Regions from separate parts of the Homo sapiens genome. Here all the other regions are linked to region 1. The links are contacts of gene promoters, found by promoter capture Hi-C in blood cells and fetal thymus (Javierre and others, 2016). All regions are on one chromosome and are shown on one strand. Each heading gives the region's core, a stretch centred on a gene start or on the middle of the fragment in contact. The rest is flanking DNA. Distances are from core to core; before and after follow the strand shown. Region 1 holds the start of SNRPB2 (small nuclear ribonucleoprotein polypeptide B2). Region 2 has its middle 2.3 kb from the start of TASP1. Region 3 overlaps CRNKL1 (crooked neck pre-mRNA splicing factor 1).

What was found. The method cuts DNA at HindIII sites, captures the fragments that hold promoters and counts their contacts. A CHiCAGO score of 5 or more calls a contact.
Region 2: a fragment that was not itself captured here is called in contact with the fragment with the promoter of SNRPB2 in region 1 in 7 of 17 cell types (activated CD4 T cells, non-activated CD4 T cells, total CD4 T cells and 4 more); the score reaches 10.2 in activated CD4 T cells.
Region 3: a fragment that was not itself captured here is called in contact with the fragment with the promoter of SNRPB2 in region 1 in 5 of 17 cell types (activated CD4 T cells, naive CD8 T cells, non-activated CD4 T cells and 2 more); the score reaches 9.1 in activated CD4 T cells.

The regions. Positions count from the first base shown.
Region 1 is chr20:16,728,450-16,731,612 of GRCh38, reverse strand. SNRPB2 (small nuclear ribonucleoprotein polypeptide B2) reads right to left here and starts at 1,587. Exons shown (of 7, transcript NM_003092.5): 1 at 1,449-1,587. RefSeq lists a silencer at 1,130-1,179 and enhancers at 1,330-1,449, 1,500-1,549, 1,608-2,476. The HindIII fragment of the contact is 9,448 bases long and covers 1-1,850 here.
Region 2 is chr20:13,639,687-13,642,796 of GRCh38, reverse strand. No RefSeq gene overlaps it. Among named protein-coding and RNA genes, the nearest start is that of TASP1, 2.3 kb to the right of the region's middle. The HindIII fragment of the contact is 2,746 bases long and covers 1-2,741 here.
Region 3 is chr20:20,045,393-20,048,487 of GRCh38, reverse strand. It overlaps CRNKL1 (crooked neck pre-mRNA splicing factor 1), which reads left to right. Exons shown (of 14, transcript NM_001278628.2): 4 at 1-145; 5 at 557-723; 6 at 3,002-3,095. Among named protein-coding and RNA genes, the nearest start is that of CRNKL1, 5.5 kb to the left of the region's middle. The HindIII fragment of the contact is 1,772 bases long and covers 365-2,136 here.

The DNA.
Region 1 (3,163 bases), core at 338-2,837:
CAAGAATTATTAACTTTTCATTTCTCTTTCAATCCCAGTTGTCAGAAAATGTCAGTTTGGCTGTAGCCTTTATTGTATCTCCAGCACCTACTAGCCCTCCTTTTCATACAGAAGAAGAACAGTTTCTCACATTCAAAACTTGGAGCACCAATACCTAGCCAGATTTTAGTAACACCATTTAATTCAACACATTTATTTTTACACTTACGTTTCACTTATGACACGTGACATTTTCTTTCCACCTCCTCAATGAAATAATTTTAAAATGTAGATTTGAAGAAAAATGACCAAAGTAGCAAATGTACATCCAGTAAAAATCATAAGGTTAGACATTAATGAAGTTTGCCAACTACTTAATGGGTGCACTTACAAAGTCCTTCCATACCTATTAATTTGTATACAGCATCACCAAGCTGTCTGGACTCCAAGGTTATCTCTAACCGACTTGAAAGAAAGGAGCTCAATGACAGCAGTGTGGCATGACGATTAAACTCAGATTCCAGTATCAGCCAGATGTGAATTCAAATCCTATTTATGCTTCTTACTAGCTGTTTGCCTGAGGGAAGTTCCTTAACCTCTCAGGTCCTCATCAGTAAAATAAGAATGGTAACAGAACCTACCCAATAGAACTCAGAAGACTAAATGAATTCTAGCACAGTTCTGCATCAGCGGTAAACACTTAAGAGTAGCTATTATTAACAGCTATTACCAGGTAAGGAACTTGCCTAAGGTCACACAGCTAATAAGCATCAGGCCTGGAAATTCAGCCCTTGCTTTCTCCTCTACACTTGTCTTCCTCATATACCACACTATTGCATTTTTTACATGGTTTTTACTTGCAAATTGTGAACTTGGATGATTTCCTTGTGTGCCCCACATATTCCTTTATCTCACAGTATTTACAGAGCATCCACTGTATGTGAACTGCATTGGATGATTGACAAGGGAAGAGCCTACAAGCAGGGGCTGCACTTGTGCAGGTAACAGGTAAAACGTAACGCTTCTCAAAGCCTTGCGACCCCCTAAATCGAAATCTGGAGAAGGGGCAGGGGTCGCAAAGGAGACGACGAAAGGGAAGTGACTGAGGCAGAGGTCAAAGTGAAGGTAGGGGGACAAAGGGGAGGCTCTTGCAGGGTTTCATGCGAGGTTTGATCGTGGGCTGCGTTGTTACAGGGACACCCTGAATTACCCGCCACCACCAAAAGGGAGCCGCTGGAAGACACCTGAAAGCGCAGTGAACTGTCCACGCCTCGCACGAGCAGACTGACATTAACTATCCTTTACTTCGTACGCGCAAGCCTCCCGCCTCTCCAGACACAAGCACCTTCGCCCAAGGCCCCCTAACGAAGTCCAAGGGAGCTGCCACGCGATGCCCGGCCCCAGAGTCAGTCTCCTCACCCCCAAGCCTGCCCCTCCGAGATCCAAACCCGGGCCAAACGCGTACCCACCCCAGCTTCGCGCTTCGTCCGCTCCCAGCTGCAACAGGGGAGAAAAGGGCCGAGGAGCCAGGAAAACCGAAACAGCGAGGTAGAAGGCGCACGAACCCACCTAAGGCCTACGCCGACTACTGTAAGAACCAAAAGCAGGAAACGGAGCCAGGCACCGGAAGCAACGTAGCCACGCTCCTCAATCGAGCGCCGACAAGTCTAGAAGCCGAGCACAGAGCCGATCGATGCTTCCGGGTCTCTGGCAGCCAGGGCTGGCAATCTCTCTGCGCGTGCGTCTGCCCTGCGGGCAGGAGAAGAGTCCGGAAATGGAAATGGGGAAAGAGAAGGGGGTTGTGAGGACCATGCTGCGAGGGAATAGTGAAGGGGAGTGAATCATTTCCCCTACCACGACCTTGCGAAGCTTTACCCGGCGCAACAGTGCCTTCCACCTTTACAAATCCTATGTAATTTTACAGGCGCTGCCCCTCATGCTATGGGGCAGTTAGTCCTGGTTTCGCCCTTCTTTGGGCTCTAGCTACCCCGGTTTAAAATCACCTTTAGGATAGCCAGTTCCTCCTGCCTCCGAGTCTCCTCTGATTCATGGGGCTCTGCAGGAACTGTCCTCCAACACTGTGCTGATGAACTTGAATCTCAGAGGCTACTCAGTTTGAGGGCCCAGGGCAGACAGAACTGGTGTCTGCCCAATTCTCATCTCTCACCAGATAAGGCAACCATGCTGACTAGAACCCAGTCATCTGTAAGATCATCTGCCTCAATTCACTCGAAAAAATAATTCCCTACCACCCTTCCCACTCTTTTCTTCCAACAAAAGGTCTAGATTTTTCTAGGGTATTCTAAGGAGTTAGTATTTATGCCAAGCTGAATGGGAGTTCCCAAAGTGCATGCATTCATTCATCCATCCATTCATCAGATGTCTGTAAAGCATCACCTGGAATATGAAATGGTTGTTAAGAGTCAACTGGAACCTAATCTTGTACCCTCTGCTTAACTAATCTCTCTGACCTTCACTTTTTTCATCTGTAAAATAGGGATCCTAATAGTACCTCCTTCTAGTTGTTGTAAGCATTAAATGAGCTAAAATAAATGTAAAGTGATTGGCACATTGTCAGACACAATAAATGCTCAAAAATGTTATTTCTGAATTCTGGCTATAACTTGGTTCTACTGGTGAGGCAGGTAGCTGTCAAATAAGTTGGTTTTATCAGCTGGGAATTTTTATTTTTTAAAAACACCCAAAGTTGCAACAACTTGAAAATAATATAAGCTTTTTAAGGGTGGGGTTTTTGTCTGCTCTGTTCACTCAAGTACCCTTAGTAATGGGAAAAGTGACTGATAATTAATATGCATTGGATAATTCAATGAATGACATGGAAAACTAGGCAACAGTAAAACAAATATGCTTTGAACATGCACCTGAGTGTAGAGAATGTTAAGGGATCACAGAAAAGCATCGTTTTATTATATAGATCTAAAACTAGAAGAAATGGCTGAGTGTAGTAGCTCACACCTGTAATCCTAGCATTTGGGGAGGCTGAGACAGGAGGACTGGTTGAGTCCAGGAGTTCAAAATCATCCTGGGCAACATAGTGAGATCTCATCTCTAAAATAAATAAACCAATGAGAAGAAATGTCCTATCTCAGTCAAAGAATTATATCTTTAACAAATTAAAAGAGAATATAAACTTAATATAAACAATTTCTAAATAACAAAGGAC
Region 2 (3,110 bases), core at 119-2,618, 3.1 Mb after region 1:
GAATGGGGGGACACTCTTTACATGTTACAATAAAAAAGCTAAGAGATTGCAGAGAAAGGTGTTAAATCACAAACTGGTCAGACAGTTTGTTGTGCAGGAAGAATATTTATATTGCCCTATGAATGGGGGATGACAACATAGCTGGCCAGATAATTGACAGACAACAAGGATGAAACCAGAGATGGCAGGTGGGCCACCTTTCATCTTACCAGTCTTCGTCAGGGCTCCGAAGACAATGTGTTGTCATCAGGGCTTGACATGGGAGTCAAGTAATCTCTGGATTATTTGTCTTGCTCAAAATTTTATATATTAAAGAAGATAAAAGGAATTTGTTGGAAGGATAGGGAGTACCTAAGATAATTGAAAGAAAAACTAAGGAAGCAGGTTTTGGAAAAATACAAGCTCTGGAGCAGTAACAGGGAACTCTGTAACCTTGGTTGAATAAACAACTGCTTTTACTCTTTGCATTATTGCTGTCAATTTTCAAATTCCAGGCAAGAAGCAGCTTTAGCTTAGCATGGGTCAGTTGATCATCCCACGGAGCATCCTGATGGACAGTCCCACTTACGCTGGGTGCAAGTGGTGAAGGGCAGTCCCTGGAAGTGAAGTGGGGTGCTGTTAGGAGAAATAAGAAGGAATTCATGCTGGGCAGGCGAAACAACTGTTGTCTACCATAGGACTGCTTGAAGGGTTGTCGCAGTCCATCTATAATTGAAACTTTCTTTTTTCCACGTGGTAGGCAAAATTCTAAGATGACCTGCAAGATTTCTACCCCTGGTGCACAGACCCTGTATGATCCTCTCCCCTGGAGTGTGGATGGAAGCTGAGAATATGATGGCCATCCCTCCTGAAACTTGACGACGAATCATTGACTCTGTGTTCATCAAAGGAGAGATTATCCTGGGGGACCTGACCTAATCAGTTGAGTCCTTTCAAGGTGGAAAAGTCAGAGAGGACTGCTCCTCCTGACCTTGAAGAAGACAAAAGTGGCCAGCTCTACAGCTGCAAGGATTTGAATTCTGCCAATCACCTGAATGAGCTTGGAGAATCGCTCTGGGCATCCGATGAGATGGCAGCTCTGACTGACACCTTGATTTCAGCCTTCTGAGATCTGAGCAGAGACCTGGACACCTGATCCACAGAAACGGAAATATTACATTTGTGTTGTCTTAAGCAGGTGAATTGGTGTTAACTTGCGGCACAACAATTGAAAACTATCACTATTGTTCTGCTACATTTCTGACACATGTGTTAAAGCAATAGTTTTCCAGGAATACAAAACAAAGGGAGACCCCCAGGGAACCAGGACAGAGGGGGCTTACTTAGAGTACAAAGATCAAGATGCAGCAGACATGATTATTTGAGATAAAGGAAGTAATTCCTCAGCTTGCTGCTTTTCCGGGTTTGGGAGAGGTGGGAACAGGAAGAGGGAGGCAACCAGATTTTTTCTGAAGGAGATTTACTAGTATAGACTTTCCTTTCAAATTTAACATGTTGAGTTAATCAAATAGATATTACAACTGTTCGTTATTAATATTTCAAAGGATCTCATTGTTACTGTACCCAATGCAGGTTAAAAATGTTAAAACTTGGGTCTGGGCTGGGCATGGTGGTTCATGCCTGTAATCCCAGCACTTTGGGAGGCCGAGATGGGTGGATCACCTAAGGTCAGGAGCTCGAGACCAGCCTGGCCAGCATGACAAAACCCCATCTTTACTAAAAAGACAAAAATTAGCCGGGCGTGGTCACGGGCACCTGTAATCCCAGCCACTGGGGAGGCTGAGGCAGGAGAATCACTTGAACCGGGGAGGCAGAGGTTGCAGTGAGCTGAGATCGCACCACTGCATTCTAGCCTGGGCAACAGAGTGAGACTCTGCCTCAATAATAATAATAAAAAAAAGGGTCCGAAGAATTTTGTTACTTTTACTTGAGCAGTATTCACCTACCAGAGGATGGCCTGTGTGGCATCTGGGTGTGATACCCAAGACAAAAGTATACAGAGCAGCACTGGGAGATGATTATTACAATGTAGTTAAATTCCAGGAAGAATGTTGCCTAAGAAATGGAAGGGAGCATGTCTATGTCTTTTTAAAACTTTAACATCTTTCTTTTATTCCTGCTGGTTCCAGTTAATATTGCTGTGTAAAAATCCACTTTAAAGGTGCAAAAGAACAACTATTTTATTATGCTGATGGATTCTGCGGGTGAGGAATTCAGAAAGGTCACAATGGGGATGGTTTATGTCTGCTTCCTAATGCCTGGGCCAAACTTTCTGGCACTATATAACAAGGGCCCCATTTTCTCCAGCTTCCAATAACATCTTCCTTAGCTCCCTTTAAGCCCTCATTGGCAGCTTCCTCAAGTCCTTTTAGACTCTTGTTAATACTTTGGATCCCTTCCTGCTCTTGCTGCTTCACCTAGTTCCAAAGCCAGTGCCACACGTTTTACTTTTATGATGTTATTATGTTATGTTTTGTTATAATATCCATCCTACTTCTAGGTAACAAAATCGGTTTCAGTTACTATTGCTATGTAATAAACTGTTATTCTTACTATGTAATAAACTTCTTCCCCTTGCCCCTCCCTAAGAAGTCAGTGGTAGAAGAGAAAGAAAAAAAGCCCCAAGTTACATAATAAAACCACATAGGTTATATTTATAATAATGGTATCAGTGGTTCTCGAACTTTTTGGTTTCAGCATACCTTTATACTCCCCAAAATAGTAGAGAACACTCCAAAGCTTTTGTTTCTGTGGGTTACATCTATTAATATTTACTATATTAAAAATTGAATACAAAGCTGAAATGTGGCTGGGTGCGGTGGCTCACGCCAGTAATCCCAGAACTTTGGGAGGCCAAGGCAGTAGGATCACCTGAGGTCAGGAGTTCGAGACCAGCATGGCAAACATGGTGAAAACCCGTCTCTACTAAAAATACAAAAAATTAGTCGGGTGTGTATCGAGCGCCTGTAATCCCAGCTACTCAGGAGTCTGAGGCAGGAGAATCGCTTGAGCCCGGGAGGCAGAGGTTGCAGTGAGCCGAGATCGTGCCATTGCACTCCAGCCTGGTTGACAGAGTGAAACTCCATCTCCAAAAAAAAAAGAAAAAAACC
Region 3 (3,095 bases), core at 1-2,500, 3.3 Mb before region 1:
ACGAGCGTGCTTTAGATGTAGACTACCGAAATATTACACTCTGGCTGAAATACGCAGAAATGGAAATGAAGAATCGCCAAGTCAACCATGCTCGAAATATCTGGGACCGGGCCATAACAACGCTGCCTCGAGTTAATCAGTTCTGGTAAGTTTCTGATCTAACAAAACAGCCTTTTATAGACTAGCAAAGTTCCACATCTTCTGTATTTATTTTATTTACATGATGATAGTTTAATTTGATATCCTACTTTTTCTTCAGACATAAATGCTGTTATGTCCCATAGTCTATTAAGTCATAATCGTAATGTTCTATAGCTATGTAATCAAAACTAAAATTTTGATTGCAATCTTTTATTCATAAGCTTCTTGTTGAACTAGGCAACTTTTAAGAAAAAAAAATCTTTTTTTCCAATGGTTCATCCTTTTTCAGATTTACATACAAATGACAAAACATGTTTGATTTAACCTTTAAGAAAGGTAAAATCTTCAATCTTCTTCCCATTCAACAATGGAAGAACTAAACCACAGCAGATATTTTCGGGTGATTTTGTTACAGGTACAAGTACACGTACATGGAGGAAATGTTGGGAAACGTTGCCGGTGCCCGGCAGGTGTTTGAGCGCTGGATGGAGTGGCAGCCTGAGGAGCAAGCCTGGCACTCCTACATCAACTTTGAGCTGAGATACAAAGAGGTGGATCGGGCCCGCACCATTTATGAGCGATATATCCTTTGGACGAGATCTGTATGGTGCCATGATTGTCCTGGATGCTGCTGCTGCTCCTGTAGAGATGTCTCATGATCAGGACACACAGTCATTAATGTCAGGCTCAAAGTCAAGAATGCCAGTTTATCAGCTTCCCTATGTTTTGTAGGGAAAGAGATTGGTCAGAATGAAAATTTGTATTCTGGGTAACTAGTCTTTTCTAGTGAGAGTTTGGGTTTATTTTATTGTAATGCTAAAAGCTAATGTTTCCTTGTGGAAAATGATATTCCTGGGGGATTGTTTCCAGGAACTCAAGGGGATACCAAAATCGGTGATGCTTAAGTCCCTCATATAAAATGATGTAGTATTTGCATGTAACCTATGCATAGCCTCCCATATAATTCAAATAATCTCTAGATTACTTATACCTAATGCAATGTAAATGTTATATAAATAATTGTTATTCTGTATATTTTAAGGAATAATAAGCAAAAAAACGACATGTTCAATACAGAAGCACTTTTTTCTCACGAATACTTTATCTCAGGTTGGTTGAATCCACAGATATGGAACCCATGGCTGGAGGACTAACTGTACTAAGGTCCTGGCTGCCATTGCCAGTCCTGTTTTTCTAAGGTTTGTGTTGGTCATTACTACCTTACTGGAGTTCATCCAAGGTTTACTGTTTACTAGCTGTGTGGCTCCAGAGAGTCATTTAACTCCTTTGAGAGTTGGTGTCCTCTTCTTAAAAACAAGAATAAAAACACCTTTGTTGGGCTGTTGCGAAGATTAAATGATACACATGAAAGCACTTTTAGAAACTGAAGTACAGTCATTCCTCACTATTTGCAGATTCCATGTTTGCAAAATCACGTATTTGCTAAAATTTATTTGTAACCCCCAAAATCAGTAATTGTGGCACTTTCACAGTCATTTGTGGACATGCACAGAGCATGAAGTCCAACAAGGTGAGGCTTGCCTTCTGGTCTTAACCTCATATAACCATGCCTAGAGCTTGGAGACAGGAAGGGCCAGTGCCATGTAGTGCAAGGAGCTGTGGCTCTGGGGCCAGTCGGGGAGTTTGAATCCCTGTCAGTGGGGCAGCCTCAGTCCAGTCACTTAACATTTCTGAACCACTTTTCTTACAAAATAATGAAGATAGAATCTGCCAGGATGAGTTCTTTTTAGGATTTAAGATGATGATGAATGTGAGATTGTATATATACACGTTTCTCCTAGGAGCAGTGGTTCAGTACTCAATAATTAAGTGTTCGCATTGACTAAATAGAACATAACTACCAGAAATAATGAGAGTCAACTTTATTATGCAGTATTAAGATCTTTTTATTTTTTTACTCTTCTCTGTTGAGGTGACAATGTTAAGATCTTAATTATGTCTACTAATTTTAATATTATTAGTTTGACGAAAGCTTTTATAGCACTTGCTACGTGCCAGGCAGTATTCTAAGTACTTTACAGATATTGTTGTTTAATCCTCATAACATCCTTGCAGTGTAGGAACTTCTCTGTCCTACAGATGAGGGAGCTGAGGCATGAGAGATTAAGTAGCTTGACTGGGTTCTCACAGGTGCTGATGGAAATAGAATGTGAACCTAGTAGAGCAGCTTCAGAACTGATGCTCTTCTTTGCCATATTGGAATATATTACTACTTTGGAAATTAATGATTTATTCAAGGAAGATAGATTAAAATGACAATTCAAAACTTTCTGCTTTGACTCTAGTTAACAGTTTTCTTTTTATAGCATGTTTTTTTCTTAATTATTAGTTCAAGTATTCATATTTTAATATAATTGGTGCTATTTAATGACCAGACCATTATTGACCGCTTACGGTGCCATGTTCTTTTGGCTAGAAACTGTGCTAAGGGCTTTACATACATTTTCTCATTTAAAGCTGGCAGTAATCCAGTGAGGCTGGCATTATTTTTCCCTGTTTACAAATGAAACAGCTGAGACTTAGACGTCTAAGTTCAGTGACTTATCCAAGATCACATGGTTGGTAACCTGGGTTGAGATTTTTCTTTGCTTCCAACTCGAGTTTATACCCACCACTAAAATCTTAACTAAGCACTGGAGGAAAATAGAGATGAACAGGCGTGGCCCTGCTCTCACAGAAGCCACTGTTTAATTCTACACTTTTGTATGTGTTTTGTTCCCCTAGAGTTGTAGTTTGAATTTTTGGAGTTTCCAGGCTTTGGTATGGTTTTGGTGTTTACTTACTTACTATTTTTTTAAGCCATGCTGTTTTGCCTGGGATTTCCTTAATTCCCTTGCACTTGTCCTCGTGCACCCTGATGTTAAGAACTGGATCAAGTATGCCCGCTTTGAAGAAAAACATGCTTATTTTGCCCATGCACGGAAAGTGTATGA